5 separate regions of the Homo sapiens genome follow, and regions 1, 3, 4 and 5 are each linked to region 2. The links are contacts of gene promoters, found by promoter capture Hi-C in blood cells and fetal thymus (Javierre and others, 2016). All regions are on one chromosome and are shown on one strand. Each heading gives the region's core, a stretch centred on a gene start or on the middle of the fragment in contact. The rest is flanking DNA. Distances are from core to core; before and after follow the strand shown. Region 1 has its middle 40 kb from the start of CTLA4. Region 2 holds the start of RAPH1 (Ras association (RalGDS/AF-6) and pleckstrin homology domains 1). Region 3 has its middle 19 kb from the start of CTLA4. Region 4 has its middle 62 kb from the start of CTLA4. Region 5 has its middle 21 kb from the start of ICOS.

Evidence for each region. The method cuts DNA at HindIII sites, captures the fragments that hold promoters and counts their contacts. A CHiCAGO score of 5 or more calls a contact.
Region 1: a contact is called between a fragment that was not itself captured here and the fragment with the promoter of RAPH1 in region 2, in 1 of 17 cell types (non-activated CD4 T cells). The highest score is 5.4, in non-activated CD4 T cells.
Region 3: a fragment that was not itself captured here is called in contact with the fragment with the promoter of RAPH1 in region 2 in 1 of 17 cell types (monocytes); the score reaches 5.2 in monocytes.
Region 4: a contact is called between a fragment that was not itself captured here and the fragment with the promoter of RAPH1 in region 2, in 8 of 17 cell types (M2 macrophages, M0 macrophages, activated CD4 T cells and 5 more). The highest score is 8.1, in M2 macrophages.
Region 5: a fragment that was not itself captured here is called in contact with the fragment with the promoter of RAPH1 in region 2 in 5 of 17 cell types (monocytes, M0 macrophages, M1 macrophages and 2 more); the score reaches 11.3 in monocytes.

The regions. Positions count from the first base shown.
Region 1 is chr2:203,826,641-203,829,340 of GRCh38, reverse strand. No RefSeq gene overlaps it. Among named protein-coding and RNA genes, the nearest start is that of CTLA4, 40 kb to the left of the region's middle. The HindIII fragment of the contact is 3,441 bases long and covers 1-2,700 here.
Region 2 is chr2:203,533,923-203,536,622 of GRCh38, reverse strand. It overlaps RAPH1 (Ras association (RalGDS/AF-6) and pleckstrin homology domains 1), which reads left to right and starts at 1,322. Exons shown (of 14, transcript NM_213589.3): 1 at 1,322-1,512. RefSeq lists silencers at 1,174-1,243, 1,294-1,383, 1,454-1,553. The HindIII fragment of the contact is 18,695 bases long and covers 1-2,700 here.
Region 3 is chr2:203,847,279-203,849,978 of GRCh38, reverse strand. No RefSeq gene overlaps it. Among named protein-coding and RNA genes, the nearest start is that of CTLA4, 19 kb to the left of the region's middle. The HindIII fragment of the contact is 4,100 bases long and covers 1-2,700 here.
Region 4 is chr2:203,804,536-203,807,235 of GRCh38, reverse strand. No RefSeq gene overlaps it. Among named protein-coding and RNA genes, the nearest start is that of CTLA4, 62 kb to the left of the region's middle. The HindIII fragment of the contact is 943 bases long and covers 814-1,756 here.
Region 5 is chr2:203,914,277-203,916,976 of GRCh38, reverse strand. No RefSeq gene overlaps it. Among named protein-coding and RNA genes, the nearest start is that of ICOS, 21 kb to the left of the region's middle. The HindIII fragment of the contact is 2,054 bases long and covers 291-2,344 here.

The DNA of each region.
Region 1 (2,700 bases), core at 99-2,598, 290 kb before region 2:
GGATTCTGGGATTCATGCCCATGTGGGGGTCCCAGGCATCCTAGTCAGATCTCATTCCAAGAGGGTGTTCTGGCAAGTAGATTGCTCTTGCTGACCAGTGGGATTTTTCTTTCATGGATTCATGCAGTATTGGGCTGCCAGAATAGTGCCAACATGCTGATTTAGGGTGGACTTCACTCATATCAGACCCAGGATGAGTTCAGGCCTTAGAACAACCAGCAATCCTTGTGGTAGGCAGAATAATGACCCTTCAAAGATATTCATGCTCTAATCCCTGCAACCTCTGAATATGTTACGTTTCATGGCAAAGGGACTTTGCAGATGTAATTAAGATACAGACTTTTTTATTTATTTATTTATTTATTTTTGAGACTGAGTCTTGCTCTGTCGCCCAGGCTGGAGTGCAGTGGTGCGATCTTGGCTCACTGCAACATCCACCGCCTGAGTTCAAGCAATTCTGCCTCAACCTCCTGAGTAGCTGGGACTACAGGCACACACCATCATGCCCGGCTAATTTTTGTATTTTTAGTAGAGACTAGTTTTTACCATGTTGGCCAGGCTGGTCTCAAACTCCTGACTTCAAGCAATCCACCCGCCTCAGCCTCCCAAAGTGCTGGGATTACAGGCCTGAGCCACCGCACCTGGCGGGTACAACTTTAAATCAGGAGATTAGCCTGGATTATCCAGGTGGGGCCAATCTAATCACATGAGCTGTTAAAAGCAGAGAACACTCTTCAGCTGGAAACAGAAGAGAAATGAGGCAGAAGGGAAAGTCAGAGAGATTCAAGGTATGAGATCCATTGCCACTGGCTTTGAAAATGGAGAAAGGGGGATCCAAGGCAGACAGCCATCAAGGACATTGGAACTTCATTTCTCCAACTGCATGGAGCTGAATTCTGCCAACAACTGGAATGATCTTCAAAGCAGATTCATCCCCAGAATCTCAAGAAAGGAACACAGCCCAGCCCACACCTAGATTTTGCCTTATGAAACCTGGGGCAGAGAACCAGCCAAGTCATGTGTGCCTGGACTTGCAAGCTACAAGACTGTGAGATAATAAAATGGATGGCCAGCCTGGGCAACATGATGAGACTCTGTCTCTACAAAAAATAAAAAATAAAAATAAAAATAATTTAATTAGCTGGGCATGGTGGCAAACATCTATAGTCCTAGTCACTTGGGAGACTGAAGCAGGAGGATCACTTCAGCCCGGGAGGTTGAGGCTGCAGTGAGCTGAGATTGTACCACTGCACTCCAGCCTGGGTGACAGAACAAGACCCTGTCTCAAAAAATAGTAATAAAGTAAAAAATAAAATGGATGAGAGAAAAGAAACAGCCAAGCCATGTGTGTCTGGACTTCTGACCTACGTGACTGTGAGAAAATAAAATAGATTGTATTAGTCCATTTTCATGCTGCTAATAAAGACATAACTGAGACTGGTCAATTTACAAAAGAAAGCAGTTTAATGGACTCACAGTTCCACATGGCTGGGGAGGCCTCGCAATCATGGCGGAAGGTGAAAGGCATGTCTCACATGGTGGCAGACAAGAGAAAAGAACTTGTGCAGGGAAACTCTCCTTTATAAAACCATCAGATCTCATGAGACTTATTCACTATCACAAGAATAGCACGGGAAAGACCTGCCCCCATGATTCAATTACCTCCCACAACACCTGGGAATTGTGGGAGCTACAATTCAAGATGAGATTTGAGTAGGGACACAGCCAAACCATATCATGGATGTTGTTTTAAGCTGCTCACTGTATGGTAATTTGTTATGGCAGCAATAGAACACTAAGAGTCCACCATGACCTTAGGGCTTGAGCCACATGAGTAAGCCCATGCATGGGCTCTAACCTGACTGTGTTCTGACCTCAGTGCCACCTCTGGTTACAACACTCAGGGAGGCAGGAATGAAAGCAGGTACCCAACCTTGTCGAACCCCTCCCCCATTGCTAGTGTCCCCTCCACCAACAGGCGCTTCCAAATGATGTTCTCACTTGCTTTCAATTGATGTGGTGATGTCATGCTCTCCAGGGACAGTGTTAGGTTGTACCTGAAATGGGCCACACATCCCTTATGTGAATGAGACCTCTCTTCTATTCTTCCCATGAGACCCTCACCTCTCCTTGCCTCTTATGGCAGTGTATGGAAGGCAGGGATGCAATCATTATTGAAGGAGGTCACATTCTGGGAATACAGTGATTACTACCTAAAAAGTTCAAAAGAAGACATGGTTGGAAGATGAGCTATTCCACATTATGCTATAAAATTCTGAACATGACCAGAAAACAGATTATCATTCACACATTTCTACATACTCTGAGTAAGACTTGCATTTGTGGTCATCTTCAATGAAGCACAATAACAACTTTGGAGATGGTCCAATACTCACAGGCAGCCTGATGGATGATGCTGTATCATGAAGAATGCTGTATCAGCATTAAATAAATAAAATTAGGGAACCACAGAGGCTGGAAGATCTATATTGCTTTAATACAAACAGGTTCTGAAGAGCTTTAGGGTTGTGAGTAAGAACAGCATCGCTACCTTTTGCTCATGGTGGAAGATGCTAACTTAGCCAGGAACAGCATATTTGATGATAAAGATTACAAAGAAATGGTTCCCAGACCCAAACAGAAATCTTAATGTGCACCGATTAGACAAAAAGTAAATTCAAAAGTACCATTTTTCTACAC
Region 2 (2,700 bases), core at 73-2,572:
TTTCAAAAGTACAGATATCTCAAGTGTGAAAGGCAGCCAGTATCTGTATTGTATGGTTCTAAATACCAATTTGAAACAGATTGTGTACCAGTTTGGAACAGATTGTACAAAAAAGACTGAAACCACTTGAAAGTCCTCAAGAATATCAGGAAGTAAGAATGTAATTAACCAAACCAGGATTTGGCCCCAGGACAGAGAAATGAACACTCTCATTCTTAGAGAGGGAGCTAGGATTTCAGGAATGTACAGTCAATGCTTTGTGAAAATTTAAATAAATTCTTAGCAAGCAGATGGGAAGACATGAAAAAGCAATGTTCATTGCAACCAATTTCAGGTCACACTCCCAATTTCTCAATTGTTTTAATGCTGTCAACAAACTTGCTTTGCATGTAGCCAAGCAAACATAACTTAGTTCCATTTGTTCCTTTCTTTGATCAACTTTAGGTGAAGGTCAAAATAAGGACATACTTAAAATCTAAAAGTCTGCCGAAGTCAAGCCTGCATCTAAAGAGGCAGCAGCTGAGCTTAGCGATAAGGAAAAATGCCGACACCTTACTACTACACAATTCCGATGGGGTGGGGGGACAGAAATTAAGGAGGCAGGATTAACAGATTTCGAAGTTTAAAAAGTAAAGGTCATCGAAATGTCCCGTTCCTAAGTTTCCCAATACATTCCATGAAACTGCAGAGACTTTTTGGCCAAAATGGGATTTCCTAAAGAAGGGCCTCACAGATCTCAACGACAATGGTCCTGTAAGTGACCGAGCCAACCCCGGATGCGTTTCTGGAGTCTCTGAATACACGGACAGCGTATAAAGGTGGATGCGTACAGCTCCCTGACAGAACTGCTGGAGGCTGCTGTGCCTCCCAGGGCGCTAGGACAGAGGCTGCTGGGCCGGCTTCCTATGAAAGGCGAGCAGGGGGTGGGGCAGCACTGGGATTTTCCTCCCCACTCATTCATTCTCTGATTCACTCGTTCCTGTAGGCGGCTCACAGGGACTTGCGGAGGAAAGGCGAGGCACGAGCGGAGCCGCGGTTGAGTGCGGCCGGGCGCGGCCGGGCGCCTGAAGGGAGGGCGGAGGGCCGGCGCGGGGCGCGGGCTAGGGAAGGGCGGCGGGCGCGGCGGCCTGCGCCGGAAGTGAGTGGTTGGCGGCGGGCGGGGGCGGCGCGCGGTCCCGCGCGAGTCGGCCCTACAGTCGGCAGTCCGGCCCTCAACCCCGCCTTCTGCGTCTCGGCTGGACGCGAGCACACTCGGCTCCGCCGCCGCCGCCGCCGCCGCGGGGCGCTGCGGCCGCCCCGCCCCCGCTCCCGCCGCCGCCCGCCAGTCAGTCAGTCAGTCAGTCAGTCAGTCAGTCAGTCAGTCACTGAGCGCGCGGCGCGGGAGCTGCTGGCAGTCGCTGCGTCTCTGGCGAGGGAGCGCCGCGCCTGGGGAGGAGGCGGAGGCAGCGGCTGGAGGAGCGCGAGCGGCGGTTTCCTTGCCCGGGGCCGCGGGAAGGCCGACCGACTGCCGCGGTGAGTGGTTAGCCTCGCCCTCGGGGCCAGGGGGTAGGGAGCCGGCTGGGCGCGGGGCCGTGAGGCGCTCCTGCCGCTCCCGCCTCCATTTTCCCGGCGCCCGGCCCCGCCATCCGGGTGCGGTACGGTCGGCGGCAGCCTGGGGCGGGGTCGTTGCCAGGTTGGGGATCGGGCCGGGGCTGGCTGGACCGCTCCCGGCTGGTGGATGGAGGTCGGTGGGGCCTGGACTGCACCCTGCGCCCCTGGGGACCGCGACGGAGGGAGACAATGAGATAAGGGGCCGCCTGGGAGGGTGCGGTTAGGCTTCTCCGACCCAGCACCGGGGGCTGGTGGCCCGGGACCGCAGGGAGGAAAGGACTTTCCCCCGCCCAGCTGCAGAAACCAGCTACTGGATGTCGGGTTGCTTGGGTTTCGATGCCCCCATCTTTCATAGATGAGTTCAGTGCAGAGATTTTGAAAGGCGGGGCTCCTTCTGTGTCTTCTTTCTAATTAAACAGGATAAGTAATTGCTTCATTGCTTTTTAACCGCGTCTCCTCTTGCGGTCTGTATTATACATTCCCGCCGGAAATCCAAACTGCAATTCATGGGGGGGGGGGGGGGGTGGACGGAGGGAGGGGGCAGTGTGATAGTATTAGGATGCCTTCGTGTTAAGACAGGTTGAAAGATGTGGTTTTCTTAAGGCAGTGACTTAGGGTGTCCCCACTGTGTGAGCTGGAAACCGCATAAACCTTATTGCTTACAAGCTCGAAGACATGGTTTAATATGAAATAAGAGCCTTGAGGGAGGGTGTAAGTGTTACATGTGTCTTGCGTGTGTGCATTTCTTAAATTCTTTGGGAAGATCCGTTGGGGAAATCCGGGAGAATGGAAAAGTTCTTCACTCAATCTTCCAATAAGGGTTGATGTTGTCTGCAGCATTTCTCAGGGAAATGTGGAGAGCTGCTTATGTAGGTAAAGTCCACCGTTAAGGAACAGTAAAGGTAACGGGTTAGGGATGAGGCGTGATCGGATTATTAAAGAGTCAGTCCATGGGGATATTAAATTCAGCAAACATTTATGGAATACCTACTCTGTCAGTTAGGCTGGGTGACACCAGGTGAACAAGCATGGGGTGGTGGAAAGAGCTCTTCGGAGTGGGGGAAACCGTACGCCCTGGAATTGGCTTGCAATGTGAGTTGGATAAGCTAT
Region 3 (2,700 bases), core at 177-2,676, 310 kb before region 2:
ATTTGGCCATACGCGCAAGCTGAGGGAGGGGCCCTGGTGCAATTGTGGTGGGTGATGTGGGAGTCTGGGCCACCTGTTTGTTTAGCTTGCTCATATCCTCTCATTCTTCTTGGATCCATCTCAGATTTAGTATTTCCACCTTATGATGGACTGTTTCTGGGTCCATATGACTTTATGGCTTGGTGAAGCCAATAGAACCCAGTTTATAATGAGAAGTCCCAGATGCACAGTGACTTGGAGTCCTGTGGTCAAGGGTTCTACCTCTATCATGGTCCAGTAACAAATCAAGAGCTTTTTCTCCAAGGACATATTATTCCCTGTTGAAAAGGGCCTGACTCCAGAATCCCAAAGGTCTTCATTATGATTCTCCTGCTGGAGCATACCATATACTCCACACTGCATCTTTTCTACCACTGATGCCTTTGACACAATAGGATCTGCCAGATTACATGACCCAAATAGCACAGGGTGCTGCACCACAGCCTGGACCTGCTGTGGTGCCCTTTCCTGCTCTGAACAGTACTCAAAGCTGGCAGCCTTCCATATCATCTGGAGCATGGGTGGAAGCAATATCCCTAGATGTGGGATGTGTTGCCTCCAGAACTCAAAGAGTCCTACCAGATGTTGTTTTATTTGTGATAGGGGATATAAGATGCAGCAATTTTTCTTTTGCTTTGGAGGGGATATCCCAGCATGCGCATGACTACTGAACCTCTAAAAGTCTTCACTGAAACTTCCCAACCACTAGAGCACATATGTTTTCCCAAGACACCACACACTAGTCACCTCTTGCTCAACTTGTCCAATCATCGTGATGTTGTCAATGTAATAGATCAGAGTGATGTTCTGTGGGGTGTTCAGGCAGTCCAGTTCCTTCAGACTCACCATCACAGAGGGTGGCAGAAACATAGACCTGAGACAAAATTGTAAATGAATATTGTTGTCCCTCCCACATGAATGCAAACTGTTTCTGATCGTCTTTTCTAATGGGAATGTAAAAGAACATATTCACCAAATCAGTGTCTGCATACCGTGAACCTGAGGCCTTATTAAAATGCTCTAGGAATGATACCACATCTGGGATAGCAACTGCTCTTTGGGCTGATGCTTGATTAAGTCTATGGCAGTCTAGAGGACCACCAGAATCTGTTCAGTTTCTACGGAACGAGATTGGTGAATTAAATAGAGATAAAGTAGGAACCACCACCCCTGCATCCTCTAGACCTTTAATGATGGCATTTATCTTCACCATCCTCTCACTCCAAAATATATGATATTTTGGATTTATTATCTTGAATGAAGTGAGAAAGATGTTGGACAATTTGAAAAGTTTCAATTTAGCCTACTTTAATAGCTCATATTCTACAGACCAGGAAACCTATGTGGAGGTTACTACAATTTCCAAATATATCAACTCCAATTGTACATTTAGGGACTGGGAAAACAACCACCTCTGGATGGGTTCTTAGGATTCTATCTATTACATGACCCCCACAGGCTGTCATTCTAACAAGGGGTGCCATGATGACACTTTAGGTCTCCAAGTACTGATGTCAGCTCAGACCCTGTGTCCATTAATCCCAAACATGAGTGGTTGTTCCCCTCTTCCTCATCCGTGTAAGGGATCATAAGTCCCTTGGGGAAGGACTGAGGGAATTATCTCAGTATATTCTTGCCATAGTGCTGAAGGGTCTTTCCTCCTAGTACCAGGCCACCTCTTCAGTCAATGGGTTACAAATCTGAAAATTGGCTCAAGTTCAGGAACTGCACAAAGGATTGTGGCTTTTTATTAGAGCAGTTGTTCTCAGTCTCCTGATCCTCTGCTTTTACCTGTATTTTTTTTTTCTTTTTACAGTCAGCCTCCTGGCTTCCCAGAGCTCCATCATCCTCATAGATGTCAACAAACTCAACTCTGTGACTACCTCTCTTGCCATAATCCCTTACCTGCAAAGGAGGAAACCACTGTGGTGCTCGTGCCCCTCTCACCAGCATATTCCTTATAACCCTAGTGAATGATTTTCCCTCTGGTCCCTGTCATGGAACATCAACCTCCTCTTGGTGGGTCTTCTGGTCTCACATAATATATCCATTCCAGCGTCTCTACCTCTTCAGTCCCTTTATTCGTCTACCATCTGCCACGGTAATTCAGGCACTTCCACTTCATGAGAGTTGGCTATTTTTTTATCCAGGCTTCTAAGAGCCACCCAGCAATAAGTTTGCCCTATCACCCAACAACTTTTCTAGGGTGTTAAATATCAGGTCTCAAGAAAGTGCCCTTAGGTCAATGAATTCTTGCTTATCTAGTCTTACATTTTAGCTTCTTTGATCAAGCACCCTCAAAATCAAATCCTAGGAGTATTCCCCTGGCTTCTGCCAATTAATGCTGGCAAACTATTGCAATTCCTTAGGCATAGAGTCTCTTTCTTAACTTACCAGGCCCAGCATGACCTCAATCCTAGTTATTGGCTTGGCAGGCAAGAGAGGAGGTGGGGGCAGATTCTGAAGTGGCACCTCTTACAGGGGTGAGATTTCTATAGCATCTTCCAGCACTGTAGAACTGCTAGCCTTTACTATGGAAGGTGAGCCACATCTGCAAGCCCAGAGGATCTGAGGGGGTTGAAGAATGAACATCCTCAGGGTGCCATCCAGATGTCCCCATCCCATGTTGCAGTATTCTGCAACAGGGTCCCACCAGGTCCC
Region 4 (2,700 bases), core at 36-2,535, 270 kb before region 2:
CCACCTCCCAGGTTCAAGCGATTCTCATGCCTCAGTCTCCTGAGTAGCTGAGCTTACAGGTGTGTGCCACCACGCCTGGCTAATTTTTGTACTTGTAGTAGAGATAGGGTTTCACCATGTTGCCCAGGCTGGCCTCAAACTCCTGGGCTCAAGTGATCCACCTGCTTCGGCCTCCCAAAGTGATGGGATTACAGGCATGAGCCACTGTGCCTGGCCATTTGCCTTCTCTTTGTGTCACTTTCCTCACTGGCTTTATCATTCTTCTGATTACCTCATTAATGAGAAATGAAACTTTGACACCTACTCACTAAGGGGTTATATGAAAACTATGAGTATAAATTTATAATTGTTTTGACACTTATAGGTGATGTAAATTTTATTAAAGTGTCTTAAACCATTCAGAAAGCTTTAATTGGTCATTCAAGGTATACTTTATTTTGTTCTCTAAAAATATTACTCATCAACCACAGTCAGAAGCCATAATGTTCAAGACTTTCACTTCAGGCAAAGAGGAATACCAAAGACCTAATTGATCCTGTCTTGAAAAATGCTAAAAAGTAAATGGGCAAAATATCAGAAAGTATAGTTTTTAGACACTGAACATCAGACAGCACAGGACAGTGATCTCTAAGAGCGGGAAAGCAAATAAGGTGAGCTCTATGATTGTTCCAGCTCACAGCCTGGAAAATTTCCAAGATACCATGCAGAGAGGAGGTCTCATTTAGTTGAGAAGATGGAGCTGGGAGTCTGGAATCAGTAGTGAGAAAAATCAGCCTTATACCAAAGGCAGCTCTCATCCCACCTCACAAAGCTTAAAAGCAAACTTCAAATTGTTTTCAAGTAATGCACATGTATCTCAGAACAAACATTAAAAATATTTATGGGACTATAAAAAAAACCAATACCCAACAAGGTAAAATTTACAATATCTGGCATCCAATCCAAATTACTGGGTATGCAAAGAAACAGGAAAATATAACTCATAATGAAAAGAAAAATTGATCAGTAGAAACAGACCCAGAAATGATAAAGATGTTAGAATTAGTAGAGAAAAACATTAAGACATGTAGTTATGGTCAGGCTCAGTGGCTCACACCTATAATCCTAGCACTTTGGGAGACCAAGGTGGGCAGATAGCTTAAGCTCAGGCATTCCAGACCAGCCTGGGCAACATGGTGAAACCCCAGCTCTACAAGAAATACAAAAATTAGCCAGGTGTGGTGGCATGTTCCTATAGTCCCAGCTACTCAGGATGCTAAGGTGGGAGGATCTCTTGAGCCCAGGAGGTCAAGGGTGCAGTGAGCTGAGATCATGTCATTGTAGTTATTGTAACTATATTCCATATGTTCAAGAAGGTGGAGGAAAGATTAAGCACATTAAAAAGAGACATGAGATCTATTTAAATGACCCAAATAGAACTTCTGGAAATGAAAACTACAACACCTGAAAAAAATACACTGGGTAGGATAAACAGTGGATTCAACACCAAATAAAATAATATTAGTGAACTTGACGGCATAGCCATAGGAACCATGCATAATAAAACTCCTGGAGAAAACACACTGAAAAATGAAGAGAACATCAGACACCTTTAAGCAGTCCAATACACATATAATTGGAGTATTGCAGTCCAATTATATATTATTTTCCTGTTGGAAAATGTGAAGACAGAAAAAATTTTTAAATTAATTTTTTTAGATGTAAATTTGTCTAAAGATATAAACTCACAGATTTGAAGCTCAACCAACACCAAGCTTAGGAAACAAGAAGAAAATTTCATGAAGGCATAATGTTATCAAATTGCTTAAAATAAAGAGAAAATCTTCAAAGCAACCAGAGGAAAAAACCATAAAGTTGTGTTGTCTCCCCCAGATTGTGAAATGTTCAATTCCACACACCCTGGCCTTGGGAAACCACGGGAGGTAGAGCTTGGGACCTGTGGACCTAGAGAACATGGCTTTGCTTTCCAAGTAGAGTTCGGAATGCAAACAATATTTAATATGAACTATAAATATTTTTTCTCATTTATTAATGTTTCCCTTTAGCAGGGCAGGAACTAGCATGAGTTGATGTATCAGGTACAAATTTTAAGGAGCACTAAAAAATTAATCAAATAACATTTTCGTGTAATATTTTAAAGAATTAAAATGAATGCAAGAAAATCATTATCAAAATATCACATTTTTAATGAAGACAGGATCTGACCCTGTGCTTGCATGACTCACTTCCTTCTCCTTGGTCCAAGTCCTACTCTTTAGAAAGAGACCTGACATATCTTTAGGGCAATTTCTTCTTATCTCCCCCACGCACTGCCCATAGTAACTCCAGTCCTCCACCCACTCATCACTGATTTCATTTTGGTGCCAAGACAAGAAACCTTAAGGCCATCTCCTTCTTTCTTTTTTTTTCTTTTTTGAGATGGGGTATCACTATGTTGCCCAGTCTGGTTTCAAACTCCTGGGTTCAAGTGATCCTCCTGCCTCAGCTTCCCAATGTGCTGAGATTACAGGGATGAGTTGCCACACCTGGTCTTTCTTATTAGTTCGTATTTTCTTCATGTTTCTCCCTTCTAGAGTCACAAGAGAATTATCCTCTTCAAGTACAAATTATATTCCTAAAATGTTTGCCTCTGTACTAGAAAGGGTTATCAAGGAATTGGAGTCTTTTAACAGCGGGTTTCTAATCAAATGGATAAAGAGC
Region 5 (2,700 bases), core at 68-2,567, 380 kb before region 2:
CAGAGTTCCCAAGGTAAAGACTTACTCAAAGAGAAAGAAAAAGCTGAATTTCTCTGCCAGACCAAAAAAACCAAATCAATCCACTGTGTCAGCATCCTGAAGCTGCAACTTGTGTATATCAACCTAAGGCAAAGTCATGGCCACTTTCTTACCTACCAATCCATCAATAGCTGCCATCAGATGCATCTTTTGGGACAACAAAATAATTAGCACATTTATTTGCCAGCCATTTGGGGGAATTGATGTAGGGCTGAACCACTGACTCTTCTACCAACTAGTGGGACAAAGCTTCATTTATAAGCAAGGACTTGGCATTTTAGAACTCAATGTGTCATCTCTTCCTGCACAATGATACTGTATTAAGGTCTACTTACTGGGTAAAGAGGTATGGAAAGTCACTAATAAACTCAACTGATGGTAAAAGAACAAGAACTCAAATTACAAAATGAGGTAAGATAAGATCCCTGAATCATAGAAGTCAGTTCCTTACCTGACTACCAGGTATTCTTACTCCAACAAAGGTTATTGATAGATCCTTATTGGAGACAGCTGGATCTCTTTGAAGCCGTAGCCTGACCTAACCCAACCACCTTAATTTGCAGGATCTGCTCACTAAGGTTTAGTCTATTCAGTTTGTTGTTGGTCGCTGCCCTATATGAACAGGGGAAGTTTAAACAGCAGTGGAGAGCAAAGCAAAGAAAGAGCCTCAAACAATCATATACTTTTTTTCTCTCCATAGGAATAAATACTACCCAGATATCCCCTGTTTCCATTGCAATTACTAAAAGGTAGTGGAATCTTTTGTGAAATTTGTGCCTGGGAACCCACTGCCTTAGAATAAAAGCATCAAGTAGGCTTGGGAGTGAATCTAAAAAATAAACTTAAGAAAGAAAATCAGGCTGGGTGCGGTGGCTCACGCCCATAATTCCAAAACTTTGGGAGGCCGAGGCGGGCGGATCACCTGAGGTCAGGAGTTGGAGACCAACCTGGCCAACATGGTGAAACCCCGTCTCTACTAAAAATATAAAAATTAGCCAGGCGTGGTGGCCGGCGCCTGTATCCCAGCTACTCGGGAGGCTGAGGCAGGAGAATTGCTTGAACCTGAGAGGCGGAGGTTGCGGTGGCCAGGATCGTGCCACCGCACTCCAGCCTGCGCAGCAGAGCGAGACTCCGTCTCAAAAAAAAAAAAAAAAAAATCAAAACCAAATTGCTAAAGTTTTAGAGATCTCAGACTCAATGATTAAAAAGTCCTGGGTAATAAAAGTCATTTGTTTTATATTGTCCTATTTTAGTTTCAGTTTCCAAAGATGTTCATTTTTACTTGACTCACTGAGGAACTGTGTTGCTAACGATCATGGATACAAATGAGTTTTTCCTTCAAATATATAAAATGAGAAGTTTTCCTGCATCCTTACATGTGATTTTTATTAGACCCAGTGCCCAGGAATTCTTCCAGTGAAATCCAACTTGATTTCAAAATAGAAAAACTGGATTCCCTTCACAGACTCTTTGCTTGGCTACAAACTGTTGAAGCAACCGTGCTTCCTTCAGAGAGGCGGGTTGTCCAGTGCAGAGATGAAGAGCTGGCTGCAGAGACAGGCCTTTCGGGTTTGAATCAGGCTTCGCAGTCTCTCGAGCTGCAGGTTCGTGGGCAAGCAAGGGAACCACTCAAGGTTCAACTTTCTCATCTGTAAAATGAAGATCATGACAGTACCTATCTCCTGTTAGTTTGTTGTGGGATCGTGTTAAATAAGTTAACATAGTAAAGCATTTCGACTAATGTGCTAACATAAACCTAGTATGACATAAAACCTAACGTTTTATTTTCTCAATAAGTACTAGCTGCTGCTGCTTGTTGCTGTAACAAAAAAAAAAAATAACATCTAACTTCTCACCTCTTATCCATCAAAGTTGTCTCAGCTCTGTTGCCTACGCCATTCAAACAAACAATGGACTTGTAATGCCCATGTGAATCAAAGGGTGGCCTGTCTGGTAAACAGCTCCAGCTGTCTGTCAGGGTCCCTGAGCTGGCGCTGTGGTGGTAGTGAGGTTTTGTGGCACAAGTTTTCTGAGTGGGTTTTGCTCTGAAGATGCAGAGGTTGTTTACTTTTAAAAAAAAAATCTTTTTCTTGCTCTACTTGTAAGATTTAGTAAAAACATGAAGCTATTCGTTACTTTGTGTGCTCCAAAAGCTAAATATAGAAAGAAGACAACTAATATTATGAAATGTGAGAACGGAGAAGAGGTGTGATGCAGCTAAATGCAGAACTTGACATTATTTTTAGGTTTGAGGTCAAAAAGTTTGCTTATGTTACCTCCTAGTGAGAAAAACTCCGTTAAAGCTTTCCTTCCTGTCAAACTCCATCCATAACGATGGTGGGAGAGAAGGAAACCGAGTAATTACTTTCCCTCAAATCATTTTCAAATTGCTGTGTTGGATATATTTATTTAGAGTTTCAGTGGCAGTGTTTTTCCTAAATGCCCTCAGAATTTAATGCAATAATATCAGCCTTTCAAAGGCATAAATTACGCAAACCAGATTTTGGAAGTTTCATTTACTGCCTCATCAGTGCATAAAATAGCGAGAACCGTATGCACCTGGAAACTCCACCTGTCTGGTCCAAGGGAGTCAAGGGTAGAATGACATGGGAAAGTTTCCTTCAACAGAGAATAGTACCCTCCAATTGCCCAGAAATTGAC